3 separate regions of the Homo sapiens genome follow, and all the other regions are linked to region 1. The links are contacts of gene promoters, found by promoter capture Hi-C in human tissues and cell types (Jung and others, 2019). All regions are on one chromosome and are shown on one strand. Each heading gives the region's core, a stretch centred on a gene start or on the middle of the fragment in contact. The rest is flanking DNA. Distances are from core to core; before and after follow the strand shown. Region 1 holds the start of ZFP90 (ZFP90 zinc finger protein). Region 2 overlaps UTP4 (UTP4 small subunit processome component). Region 3 overlaps TANGO6 (transport and golgi organization 6 homolog).

Evidence for each region. The method cuts DNA at HindIII sites, captures the fragments that hold promoters and counts their contacts. A contact is called where the count stands out against the background at its distance.
Region 2: a contact is called between a fragment that was not itself captured here and the fragment with the promoter of ZFP90 in region 1, in 3 of the 25 tissues and cell types used here (dorsolateral prefrontal cortex, lymphoblastoid cells and mesenchymal stem cells).
Region 3: a contact is called between a fragment that was not itself captured here and the fragment with the promoter of ZFP90 in region 1, in 1 of the 25 tissues and cell types used here (neural progenitor cells).

What each region holds. Positions count from the first base shown.
Region 1 is chr16:68,537,041-68,541,586 of GRCh38, forward strand. It overlaps ZFP90 (ZFP90 zinc finger protein), which reads left to right and starts at 2,251. Exons shown (of 5, transcript NM_001305203.2): 1 at 2,251-2,439; 2 at 2,718-2,785. The coding sequence starts at 2,753. The HindIII fragment of the contact is 20,432 bases long and covers 1-4,546 here.
Region 2 is chr16:69,157,596-69,162,141 of GRCh38, forward strand. It overlaps UTP4 (UTP4 small subunit processome component), which reads left to right. Exons shown (of 17, transcript NM_032830.3): 13 at 2,761-2,867. Among named protein-coding and RNA genes, the nearest start is that of UTP4, 27 kb to the left of the region's middle. The HindIII fragment of the contact is 5,469 bases long and covers 1-4,546 here.
Region 3 is chr16:69,065,595-69,070,140 of GRCh38, forward strand. The region is part of intron 17 of TANGO6 (transport and golgi organization 6 homolog); the gene reads left to right. Among named protein-coding and RNA genes, the nearest start is that of HAS3, 38 kb to the right of the region's middle. The HindIII fragment of the contact is 7,887 bases long and covers 1-4,546 here.

The DNA.
Region 1 (4,546 bases), core at 1,001-3,500:
GTTCCCATCTGACAGCTTTTGCACCTTCAGTTTCTTCAGCCTGGAATTCTTTTCCCCTTATGCACCTGCAGTTGTTTTGTTGTTGTTGGGCTTTTTTTTTTTTGAGACAGAGTCTCCATCTCTCACCCAGGTTGGAGTGCAGTGGTGCAATCTTGGCTCACTGCAACCCCCACCTCCCAGGTTCAAGCGATTCCCCTGCTACAGCCTCCCAAGTAGCTGTGAGTACAGGCGCACGCCACCACACCCTGCTAATTTTTGTATGTTTAGTAGAGATGGGGTTTTACTATGTTGGCCAGGCTGGTCTCGAACTCCTGACCTCAAGTGATCTGCCCCCCTCAGCCTCCCAAAGTGCTGGGATTACAGGCGTGAGCCACCATGCCCAGCCTGCAGTTGCCTTAAGTTGCAGCTACTAAGTCACTTGCCTCAGAGAGGCCTCCCGGTCCACTCTAATTCATACTTGTGAATTATGCATTCTGCTAATTCCAGACCACTATATTCACAAAGCAGTGATAGAAAGCATTCATTAATTTTTATATATATTTTTTGAGACAGTCTCGCTTTGTCGCCCAGGTCGGAGTGCTGTGGTGAAATCACAGCCCACCACAACCTCTGCTTCCCGGGTTCAAACGATCTTCCCACCTCAGCCTCCCAAGTAGCTGGGACCACAGGCGCACACTATTGCAACCAGTTAATGTTTGTATTTTTTGTAGAGACAGGGTTTTGCCATGTTGCCCAAGCTGGTCTTTTAATTCCTGGGCTCCTCCCTCCTCAGCCTCCCTGTGCTATTGACGTGTTATTTCATTACTTGTTAGCCCCTTGCGCAGGATTTTGTGTTTGGGACAAGCCAACAGTGATGGAAATTTTCTCCCTTTTTTGTTTTGTTTTTTTTGAGATGGAGTTTTGCTGTTGTTGCCCAGGTTGGAGTGCAATGGTGCAATCTCGGCTCACCACAACCTCTGCCTCCCAGATTCAAGCGATTCTCCTGCCTCAGCTTTCTGAGTAGCTGGGATTACAGGCATGCGCCACCAAGCCTGGCTAATTTTGTATTTTTAGTAGAGACGAGCTATCTCCATGTTGGTCAGGCTGGTCTCGAACTCCTGACCTCAGGTGATCCGCCAGCCTCAGCCTCCCAAAGTGCTGGGATCACAGGCTTGAGCCACCGCACCCGGCATAAAGCATTTATTTTTGAATGTTCATATTTTTGATAAAGCAGTGTGACATCAGGAACATTTCGTTGCAGTCATTTTCTACCATGTTGGTATGCAATGCTCTAATGTTAAGAAATCAAGCTGAAATCTAGGAAATGTAGCCTGAATGTCTGTGATATATAAGACATAATTACATAAACGTAATAGCTGTATCTAAAAGTTGACCTATCTTTGTGTTGAAAATTTCCATCGGGCCGGGCGCGGTTGCCCATGCCTGTAATCCCAGCACTTTGGGAGGCCGAGGCGAGTTCGAGACCAGCATGACCAACATGGAGAAAACCTGTCTCTACTAAATATACAAAATTAGACGGGCCTGGTGACGCATCGCATGCCTGTAATCCCAGCTACTCGGGAGGCTGAGGCGGGAGAATCGCTTGAACCCAGGAGGCGGAGGCTGCGGTGAGCCAAAATCGCGCCATTGCACTCCAACCTAGGCAACAAGAGCGAAACTGTGTCTCAAAAAAAAAAAAGAAAATTTCCATCATTGTTTGCTTGTCCCAAACAAAATCCTGCGTAAGGGGATACGAAGTAATGAAATAACACGGCAGTAGATCTGCCTTTGCACATTGCTCAGGAGGCCACGGATTTGTCCGAAGTTTCTTTTTTCTCTAAAATGAGAAATGGAAAATTGCCTTTTGAAGAAGATGTAAATGCCCCACCCTCTGACGCTGTCTCACTCCCTTCCTGTGTCACTCTTACCGCTGAAGTCAGGACCTGACATTATCTTGTTGACATGTTTGCGTTTTTATCGTCAGCCTCGTCGAAAGGGGCGTACGATTGCTCCCCGAAACCAGGGTCTTTCCCGGCCGATTCCCCAGCTAGCAACAAGCCCCTTGCAAAGAGGAGGCGGACAGTGACTGGAATACAGGGACACGCACACTCGAGCCACACTGGCCGCCTCCCTCGGCCCTCGCAAGGGTCCCTAACGCGCCTTCGGAAGCCGCCTAGGCGGGGCCTGCGCGCGCGGGCCTCTGGGAAGTGTAGTTCGCGCGCCCGGCGTGGACCCGGGGTTGCAGGAGCGAGGCTCCGAGTGCGCAGGCGCACTTCCAGTTCTGCCCCACCGCTGCGGCCATTGTCCGACCCCGGTGCGGCTGAGGCCCCTTTGGGCAGCCCCTCCGCAGATCAGAATTGGAGATAACCGAGGCTTCGGCGGGGGCGGGAGGAGCTGCCCGAGGCTCTGGGTGGGCCGGAGGTCGCGAAATCCGGAGCCCCCCAGAGGCGGTGATTCTGAGTGCGCGGGTCTGGGCGGGACCCCTCCTGGGTTTGGCGGGTGTCAGCCGGGCCTCGCCCACCACCCTGCGAAGGGGACTGGGCGTGGCCGGAGGGGGGTGTCCGGGAGGCCGCTGAGCCTTTCATTTCGGGGATGGGGAGCGGCAGGCCCGGGCTGGTTCCACGGTCCTCGCCACCATCTCCCCTGGAGATGTGGTTTAGGGGCGGAGGTGGGGCGGGGCGGGGCGGGGTGGGGTCGGTGTTGCAGCGGGGTGAGTGGGCCCTGTCCTTTCTCCCCAGCTCCTGCCCCGGAGCCGGGCCCTGGCGAGGCAGGAATGGCCCCGAGGCCTCCGACCGCCGCGCCCCAGGTGAGCAACGCGTTCCTAACCTCCTGGGCATCCCATCCATCTATCCATCCCATCTCCCAAGGGTGTTTGGAGCAGTCATTGTTCTCTGCCTGGCGACTCCCTTACTTGCTTGGCTCGATCGGAGCCTCCTGGCCATGGAAAACCCCAGGCTTTGGGGAGCTGGATTCCCAAAGGGGAGGCTGCTCTGTGGGGTAGAGAGGGCCAGTGTGGTGCGATCTTGTGGGAGGAGTTGAGATTGGATGCGTTGGGAAGTGTCAGTTTTGAGAGTCCTGAATGCCACGCCAGTTTTTTGAACTCTTGTCAATAAGAAATGGAGAGAGTGGGGTCACAGGATGGAACACTGTAGAGGAGGAAGTGACTGTCGGCAAGTGTGGAGAGAGGAGCCCCAGCTTCTGACCCAGGGCCCATAGAGAGTCCGTAAGGGGCCGTAGAAGCCTGGTTAGAACATGTCTAGGAAGAGGCTGGAGATGGGCTTTCTTGGGCAAGGAGGCAAAAACAAAACAAAATAAAAAACAACCAAAAATAAAACCAGGGCTGATTCTCCCAGAGCTTTTTGTGTCTGTCCTTTTCTGCTTTAACAAAAATGTAATAGAGCAACTCACTCCCCACCGCCAGAAGTCCAGCCTTCACCTTAATGTGAGGCTGATTCGTGAACCCATTTATTCTTGTGGCAGAGGGGGCATTTTCTAGAAGCGTCACAACTCTAAGGTTATCCATTGATTTACATATTGGTGAAAATACATCAAGATCCAGATGGTATCTGTATCTTTGAATCTACATTCTCTTTAGAATTAAGGGAAAATGACAGATTGTAGTTGCTAGGTGTGTGAGACATCAAGATCAATTCAAATAAAAATACCAAGTTGCCAGGTACAGTGGGTCACACCTGTAAGTCCAGCACTTTGGGAAGCTGAGGCAATAGGATCGTTTAAGCCCAGGAATTTGAGACCAGCCTGGGCAACATAGTGAGACTCCGTCTCTGCAAAAAAAAAAAAAAAAAAAAAATTTAAAAGATAAAAACACCAACTTAGTAATGTCCTTTAAAAGAGCAGTTTATAGTGAATTAAGCATACAATACATCATGCCTTTTTTTTTTTTTTTTTTGAAACAGGGTCTCTTGTCACCCAGTCTGGAGTACAGTGACATGATCTTGGCTCACTGCAACCTCTGCCATGGTGCACGCCACCATGCCCGGCTAATTTTTGTATTTTTTGGTTTATTTTATTTTTTGAGACAGTCTCATTCTGTCACCCAGGCTGAAGTGTAGTGGCATGATCTCGGCTCACTGCAACCTCCACCTCCTGGGTTCAAGTGATTCTCCTGCCTCAACCTCCCTAGTAGCTGGGATTAACAGGTGTACACCACCACACCCGGCTAATTTTTTTGTATTTTAGTAGAGTCAGGGTTTTACCATGTTGGCCAGTCTGGTCTCGAACTCCTGACGTCAATTGATCCGCCCACGTTGGCCTCCCAAGGTGCTGGGATTACAGATGTGAGCCACCACGCCTGGCCTAATTTTTGTTTTTTTTTGTAAAGATGGGGTTTCTCCAGGCTGGATTTGAATTCCTAAGCTCAAGTGATGTGCTCGCTTCAGCCTCCCAAAGTGTTGGGATTACAGGTGTGAGCCACCACAGCTGGGCATGTGCCACCATGCCCAGCTAATTTTTGTATTTTTAGTAAAGATGGGGTTTCACCATGTTGGCCAGGATGGTCTCGATCTCCTGACCTCCCAAAGTTCTGGGATTACAGGCGTGAGCCACC
Region 2 (4,546 bases), core at 913-3,412, 620 kb after region 1:
TTTGTATATAAGTATTTTGTGGGCATGTTGCCTTTTTTGGTTGTTTGTTCATAAAAAGGTACAATCATAGATGGCTGCCACCTCGACCTCTTGGGCTCAAGTTATCTTCCCATCTCAGCATCCTGAGTAGCTGGGACTATAGACACTCACCACTATGCCCAGCTAATTTTTTCATTTTTTTTGTAGAGACGGGGTCTCATTATGTTGACAAAGTTGGTCTTGAACTCCTGGGGTCAAGTGATCCTCCCATCCTGCCCTCCCAGCTGAGATTATAGGCATGAGCCACTGTGCCTGGCCCAAAAGTATTCTTATACATACAGTTTAATTACCTGTGTTCATATAATGTTCCTGAGAATTTTTCTGTTTTCATTGAGAATGTGAGTATTAATGAATGAGTGTGGCTATGTAGCTAGCTATGGCTAACTGTTAAGGACTTGGACTCAGTTTCCAGATTAAGCTGGTAGTTGTTTTGATACTTCCTATGGGCCTTTCACCTCTCCCTTGTCCTGGATTTTAGCTGCTGCTTCACTGTCATTTACACTCCCATCAGCCTGGAAAGTCAACTCTTTTTTTTTTTTTTTTTTTTTTTTTTTTTTGAGATGGCCTCACTCTGTTGCCGAGGCTGGAGTGCAGTGGTGCGATCATGGCTCACTGCAGCCTCACCCTCCCCAGGCTCAGAAAATCCTTCCACCTCAGCCTCCCAAGTACACAGGAGCATACCACCACACCCAGCTAAGTTTTGTATTTTTGTAGAGACAGGGTTTCACCATGTTGCCCATCCTGGTCTTAAACTCCTGGGCTGAAGCAATCCTCCTGCCTCAGCCTCCCAAAGTGCTAGGATTACAGGTGTGAGTCACCATGCCTAGTGAAAGTCAACTCTTTTATCTTCAACTCTCACTGTTCATAAGCTGATCCAGAAGCCTACAGGAGAAGAAACCCACAAGTTAGGGGTCAGATAAATCAAACTATTTATTATCTATATATGTTTTTATTACAAAACTTAGGCTATTTATCTTATATCTAGCTCTCCTTGAGATTCGACTCTACATTATGTATATGACTTTATTTTTTCCACTTCTCTCATCTCACTTCCCCTTGTAGTCAAAATGGTTTCTTCACAGCTCTCAAACCTGCATATTCTACTCCTCGTCACTTAGCTTGCACTGTTCCCCATCCTTTTTTCCTCATCCCCACCCATCCTTTGGCAGCTGGGTTATGCTTGTTATAAAGCCATGTTATCGTTTGGGGGCGTTACATGCAGCACGCATTTTGGCATAGAGCATCACTGTCCAATTTTTATCCCACACTAGTTGTCGTGTTGCCAGATTGGTTTAAAGTCTCTAGATGACAAAGATGGCTCAGACGTGCCCATCCTCCCTTAGTGCTAAATACACAGCAGGCATCCAATAAATTAAAGATATGCTTCAAGTCTATTGAACTTGCTGTTTGTCCGTAACTTTTTTTTTTATTATTAATTTATTTATTTTTGAGATAGAATTTCAAAAGACAGAGTTTCTTGTGCCCAGGCTGGAGTGCATTGGTGCCATCTCGGCTCACTGCAACCTTTGCCTCCCAGGTTCAAGTGATTCTCCTGCCTCAGCCTCCCTAGTAGCTGGGATTACAGGCACCCACAACCACGCCCAGCTATTTTTTTTTTGTACTCTTAGTAGAGATGGGGTTTCACCATCTTGGCCAGGCTGGTCTTGAACTCCTGACCTCAGGTAATCCACCTACCTCTGCCTCCCAAAGTGCTGGGATTACAGGTGTGAGCTACCACGCCTGGCCTGTCCATAATTTTGGCTTAAAAAAAATTTAGGGGCCGGGCACAGTGGCTCACACCTCCCAGCACTTTTGGAGGCCGAGGTGGGCAGATCATAAGGTCAAGAGATCGAGACCATGCTGACCAAAATGGTGAAACCCCATCTCTACTAAATATACAAAAATTAGCTGGGTGTGGTGGTGCACGCCTGTAGTCCCAGCTACTTGGGAGGCTGAGGCAGGAGAATGGCTTGAACCCGAGAGGCAGAGGTTGCAGTGAGCCGAGATTGCACCACTGCACTCCAGCCTGACAACAGAGTGAGACTCCGTCTAAAAAAAGAAAAAAGAAAGAGGCCAGGCACGGTGGCTCACGCCTGTAATCCCAGCACTTTGGGAGGCCAAGGTGGGCGGATCATCTGAGGTCAGGAGTTCAAGACCAGCCCAGCCAACATGGTGAAACCCCATCTCTACTAAAAATACAAAAATTAGCCAGGCATGGTGGTGGGTGCCTGTAATCCCAGCTAGTCAGGAGGCTGAGGCGGGTGAATCACTTGAATTTGGGAGTTGGAGGTTGGAGTGAGCGGATCCGCCACTGCACTCCAGCCCGAGTGACAGAGCTAGACTCCATCTCAAAAAAAAAAAAACAAAAAACAGAAAAAAAACCATTTGGTAGGAAAGGAGTTTGAAACAATTAAAGTATATATTTTAGTGGCAGATGCTGCCGTCATTCTCTATTCCTGTAGTAAGCAGTGTCTTAGGCCTGAGGAAGTAATAACTTCTGTTTTATCTCTCTGGACCTTCTTTACAGGCGGGATGGTTAAATAAGTAGATGAAAAAAGTAGAAACATTAACATCTAGAAGTAATTTGCACAGTGATCAGCAAATTATCCTGGCAGTGATTTAAAACTCTAATGGTCTCCTTGGCTTTTGCCATCATCTCCAGGGCAGGTCTGGCTGTGGACACTGTGTGAATTCAGAGATGTAACTGTTTTGTCCTCACAGGAACAGTGGAGGCCATGTGTCTTTTGGCAGTCAGTCCAGATGGGAATTGGCTAGCTGCATCAGGTACCAGTGCTGGAGTCCATGTCTACAACGTAAAACAGCTAAAGGTGAGCATAGGGTTTCATGGCAGCAGTTTGAATCATTGTACAGGAGCCAGTTCACCCTGCAGTTACAAGATTCAAGGCAGATTGGCATGACCTGGAAATTTATTAGACTTTTTTCTTTTTATTTTCTTTTCTTTTCTTTTTTTTTTTTTTTTGAGACAAAGTCTTACTCTGTCACCCAGGCTAGAGTGCAGTGGCGCGATCTCGGCTCACTGCAACCTCAGCCTCCCGGGTTCAAATGATTCTCCTGTCTCAGCCTCCTGAGTAGCTGGGATTACAGGTGTGTGCCTCCACACCTGGCTAATTTTTGTATTTTAATAGAGACAGGGTTTCACCGTGTTGCTCAGGCTGACCTTGAACTCCTGAGCTCAGGCAATCCGCCCACCTCGGCCTCCCAAAGTGCTAGGATTACAGGCATGAGCCACCGCGCCTGGCCAGACTTTTTTCTTTTTAACTAATAATTTTTCCAGGTTTGGAATCCTGTTTTATTTTTATGGAACCCGGAAGCTATACTGTGTAACATTAAAAGCAGCTAATGGAAACAGTGAAACCCATTCATACCTGGAAATTTGAAATTAATGATCTGTGGGTGATGTAAACACATCCAGGTTCTTTCTGTATTTTCGGGAGGAAAATTCTGATATACACAGACAAATAGTTGCAGATAATAAGAGTTCCTTTCATGGCTTGCCTTGTAATCTCAAGGTAAACATAATCAAAACTTCGAAAAAGGAATACTGGGAAAACATTTTTCACTAATCAGTAATGACGCTGTCAGTCATAAATTGAGTCATTAGTGATCCCTTACAAGTCCTCATCTTCATTATAAGAATCAGATTCGAACTACCCAAAACTTGGAATAAGCATTAAAAGTGTATAGAATAACATCAAACTGCAACACTTAATGGGTTTACCTGTTAACTGCATAGTGTAACCTTTGTTGCATTATGGTAGGAGCATGTACTGAGCACTTGTCTTTGAGCCTTGCCTGGCATTTAAAGAGTGTTTGTGTGTAGCGTGCACATGCTTTGCAATTGTACATAAAAATCCATGCCTAGGCATTTATTTATTTTAAACCTGGTGTAGAGCTGTAGACTCCCTATTCAATGACACATTTATAAGCAGTTTGTACAGATGGATTTACTCAGAGGGAAAGGCTTTACTCTCAGTTCTCCACAAACGCTGTTAGTTTTGTACGCGGTTAAATAAGCTTTTTATTTTTTTGAGACAGGGTTTCACTCTGTCACCCAGACTGAGTGCAGTGGCACAGTCACAGCTCACTGCAGCCTTGACCTCTCTGCTCAAGCGATCCTTCCACCTCAGTGTCCTGAGTAGCTGGGACTACAGGCGAGTCCCACCACACCTAGCTAATCTTTTTTTTTAGTAGAGATGAGGTTTTGCTGTGTTGCCCAGGCTGGTCTTGAACTCCTGGACTCAAGCGTTCCTCCCGCCCTGGCCCTTCCGAAGTGCTGTAGTTACAGGTGTGAGCCACTGCGCCCAGCCAATAGGCCTTTTGTTTTTTTTTTGAGATTGAGTCTTGCACTGTTGCCCAGGCTGGAGTGTGGTGGCGCAGTCTCTGCTCACTGCAACCTCCGCCTCCTAGGTTCAAGTGATTCTCCTGCCTCACCCTCCTGAGTAGCTGGGATTACAGGTGCACGCCACCACACCCAGCTAATTTTTTT
Region 3 (4,546 bases), core at 1,323-3,822, 530 kb after region 1:
GTCTAGCAGAGAAAAATACTCTTAAAATAAAAGGTTTTTGAAAAGCTCAGTAACCTCCAGTTAATAATAATGCCACTGTGAACTTCAGTGTGTTTGAGATTTTCTATCTGTCAGGCATGGGTAGAAATCTCTTAGACATTAGTAATCCTGCCTTTCTTTACTGACCGTCCTGACGCTTTCAGTGAAGTGTCTCAAAAGCCTGGTCTTTCAGGTTTGAATTGGCCCTAATTTCTTTTTCATAGACCCATCAAAGTGAAAGTTTGGGTTTTATCAGGAAAGCATTATTCTTCTTCAGTCCAGAGCTCCTGAATGAGGTCCAGATTGTCTGTGTCCATTCTGCTTCCCCAATTTATTTGTTTCCTGCCCATTATCTTAGAGAGGCCACTCGCCTCAAAGACCTTGGAGTCTGGCCCCTTTCTGCTTCCCCGGCAGAATTCTTCCTGATGCTTTCCATTCTGCAGCATAGCTTGATCAGAGCTTCCAGTGTGCCAGCTACCAACATCATCTGACCTGCGCTGGCCTGATACTGTGTTCAGACTACATTAAATTCATTTCCCCGCATCTACGCCACCTCCCTCTTCCTCTCACTCGCCTTCATTTATTCATCTGCCCAGCCACTCTGCCTTTGGCTTCTCCTCTCTAGTCTTTGTTTTCAGAGCTGTGCCTTTCCCCCTCCTATTCATTCATTCATTCATTTGTTTATTTATTTATTTATTTTGAGATGGCGTCTCGCTCTGTTGCCCAGGTTGGAGTGCAATGGCGTGATCTTGGCTCGCTGCAACCTCTGCCTCCCAGGTTCAAGCAGTTCTCTGGCCTCAGCTTCCCAAGTAGCTGGGATTACAGGCACACACCACAATGCCCGGCTAGTTTTTTTGTATTTTTAGTAGAGACAGGGTTTCACCATGTTGGCCAGGCTGGTCTTGAACTCCTGACCTAAAGTGATCTGCCCACCTTGGCCTCCCAAAGTGCTGGGATTACAGGCATAAGCCACCGCGCCCGGACTTCCCCTCCTATTCTTATTCCTTGGTGGTAAACCCAATTTTCTTAATGTGGTGGTAATAATAACAATACTTTGAATTATTTATCACTTTGCTGATGATAGTGAAATACTCTCACATACATTATCTTTTTTGATCCCCACAATATACTCGTAAGGTAGGTGGTTATATGTGCCTTATGCCTCCCACTCCATGGTAGTGAAAATAATAACCACTTTGAGAGGCTGAGGTGGGGGGATTGCTTGAGGCCAGGAGTTTAAGACAAGCCTCGGCAAAATATCAAGACCCCGTCTCTACAAAAAATTTGTTTTTGTTTTTGAGATAGGGTCTTTCTTGCTTCGTTACCCTGGCTGGAATGCAGTGGTGCAATCACGGCTCAGTATAGCCTCAACCACCCAGGCTCAAGTGATCTTCCCTCCTCAGCTTCCCAAGTAGCTGGGACCACAAATGCGTGACACCATGCCCGACTAATTCTATTATTTCTTGTAGACAAAGGGTCTTGCTGTGTTGCTCAGGCTGGCCTCAAACTCCTGGGCTCAAGCAATCCTCTCACCTTTACCTCCCGAAGTGCCGGGATCATAGGTATGAGCTACTGTGCCTGGCCTACAAAAAAAATTTTTTTTTTATTAGCTGAGGCTGGGCACGGTGGCTCATGCCTGTTATCCCAGCACTTTGGGAGGCCAAGACGGGTGGATCACCTGAGGTCAGGCATTCGAGACCATCCTGGCCAACATGGTGAAACCCCATCTCTACTAAAAATACAAAAAATTAGCCAGGCGTGTTGGCGGGTGCCTGTAATCCCAGCTACTCAGGAGGCTGAGGCAGGAGAATCGCTTGAACCTGGAGACCTGGGAGGTGAAGGTTGCAGTGAGCCAAGATTGCGCCACTGAACTCCAGCCTAGGCAACAAGAGCAAAACTCCATCTCAAAAAAAAAAAAAAAAAAACGCTGGGCGCCGTGGCACACGCCTATAATCCCAGCACTTTGGGAGGCCAAGGCGGGCGGATCATGAGGTCAGGAGTTGGAGACCAGCCTGGGCAACATGGTGAAACCCTGTCTCTACTGGCCGGGCACAGTGGCTCATGCCTCTAATCCCAGCACTTTGGGAGGCCGAGGCGGGCGGATCACTTGAAGTTGGGAGTTCAAGACCAGCCTGACCAACATGGAGAAACCCTGTCTCTACTAAAAATACAAAATTAGCTGGGTGTGGTGGCACATGACTGTAATCCCAGCTACTCGGGAGGCTGAGGCAGGAGAATTGCTTGAACCCAGGAGGCGGAGGTTGTGGTGAGCCAAGATTGCACCACTGCACTCCAGCCTGGACAACAAGAGTGAAACTCTGTCTCAAAAAAAAAAAAAAAAAAAGAAAATAAACCCCATCTCTACTAAAAATACAAAAATTAGCCAGGCATGGTGGCACATGCCTGTAGTCCCAGCTACTCGGGAGGCTGAGGCAGAAGAATTGCTTGAATCTGGGAGGCAGAGGTTGCGGTGAGCCAAGATCACACCACTGCACTCCAGCCTGGGCAACAGAGCAAGACTCTTGTCTTGAAAAAAAAAAAATTACCTGAGCATGGTGATGCACACCTATAGTCCCAACTGCTTGGGAGCCTGAGGCAGGAGGATCACCTGAGCTTCAAGGCTGCATGCAGTGAGCTATGATCGTGCCACTGTACCCCAGCCTGGGTACAGAGAGACTCTGTCTCAATAATAGTAATAGTCATAATAAAAACCGCTTTGAGAGACGGTACAGTATAGTGATTAATAAAGAACACTACTCTGGAGTCAGGCTACCAGGGTTTGAATCCTGGATCTACCCATTACTAGCTGTGTGAACCTGGGCAAATTGGAAATGATAATTGTGTTGTGGGGATTGAGTTAATGTAGACAAAATGCCTGGAATCATACCTGGCATATACCAAGTACTATGTAAGGATTAGCTACCGTTGCCATTCATTCATTCTTCAAAGATTTACTGCATGTTAGGCTCTCTTCCAGGCCTCAGTGATGTAAGAGTTACAGGATGGACATAGTCCTGGCCCTCACAGAGGTCACAGTCTTCACTGACAAACCATCACTTCTTTAGCACCCACCATTTGCAATTCCTTGTGCTTGGATCTTTGTTTTTGTTGTTGTTTTGAGATGGAGTCTCGCTCTTGTCGCCCAGGCTGGAGTGCGGTGACGCCATCTTGGCTCACTGCAACCTCCGCCTCCCAGATTCAAGCAATTCTTCTGCCTCAGCCTCCCGTGTAGCTGGGATTACAGGTGCCCGCCACCACGCCCAGGTAATTTTTTTCCTATTTTTAGTAGAGAAGGGGTTTTGCCATGTTGGCCAGGCTGGTCTCGAACTCCTGACCTCAGGTGATCCACCCGCCTCAGCCTGCCACAGTGCTGGGATTACAGGCATGAGCCACCGTACCCAGCCATGTTTTTGGATCTTTAGATACATTAATTCTTATTGCAACCTTCAGGAGGCAAACTTATTCCCATTTTATAGACGAGATCACTGGGGTTCCTAGAAGTGAAGTAGTTTGTTCAAGATTCCCTAGCTAATAATTGGGAGCTCTAGGGTCCACTTCACTCAGTTTGCCTGCCTCCTGACCATTAGGCTTAATTCTGTGTGTCTGCCTCCCCAACAGGGTGTGAGCTCCTGGGTGTGGGAGCCATTCAGCAGAATACTTAGCCTAGTCTCCTGCACACAATGTGGGAAATTTTGCTGAGTTGTTCTCTACTGACAATTCTTGACTCTCTGCCCCGTAATAGTCTCATCTGTTCCCTCTCACATCTCTTAGCCACAAAATCACATCTTGGGCAAGATGAAGGTGCTTAGAAGTTGGACTGTTGCTTTCTGACAGATTCATACCACACCTAATGCTTATTCCAACATGTTTTTAAACAGAACTAGTCGGATTCTGGAGTCTTCTCTTCTGGACCTCAATCTAGAGAATCTTTTTTTCTGCCAGGACAATCTCCAGCCACCAGCTCCAGTTCACCTCTTTCCCCTGTCTTCACCTGTCTTATTATTTCGGTGTATAACTTGCGTGTTATTCCTCTGTTTTTGTCTTTGTGCCTCTTATTTATTTCTCAACCACAAAGGGAGTCACAATTGGTGGTTGATAGGATTGTGTGGAATGTAGCCTTCTTTCTTTTTGATCTTTGTTTGCTTCATCTCTTGTTTCTATAGAATATTGAATTTCTAAATACAACTGTTACAAGGAAAGGGGTCTCCATTCCAGACCCCAAGAAAGGGATCTTGGATCTCGCGCAAGAAAGAATTCAGGGCGAGTCCACATTGCAAAGTAAAAGCAAGTTTATTAAGAAAATAAAGTAGTGGGCCAGGCACGGTGGCTCATGCCTGTAATCCCAGCACTTTGGGAGGCCGAGGCGGGCAGATCACATGAGGTCAGGAGTTCAAGACCAGCCTGACCAACATTGCAAAACCCTGTCTGTACTAAAAAAAAAAAAAAAAAAAAGCTAGGTGTGGCATGTGCCTGTAATCCCAGCTACTCAGGAGGCTGAGGCAGGAGAATCACTTGAACCCAGGAAGCG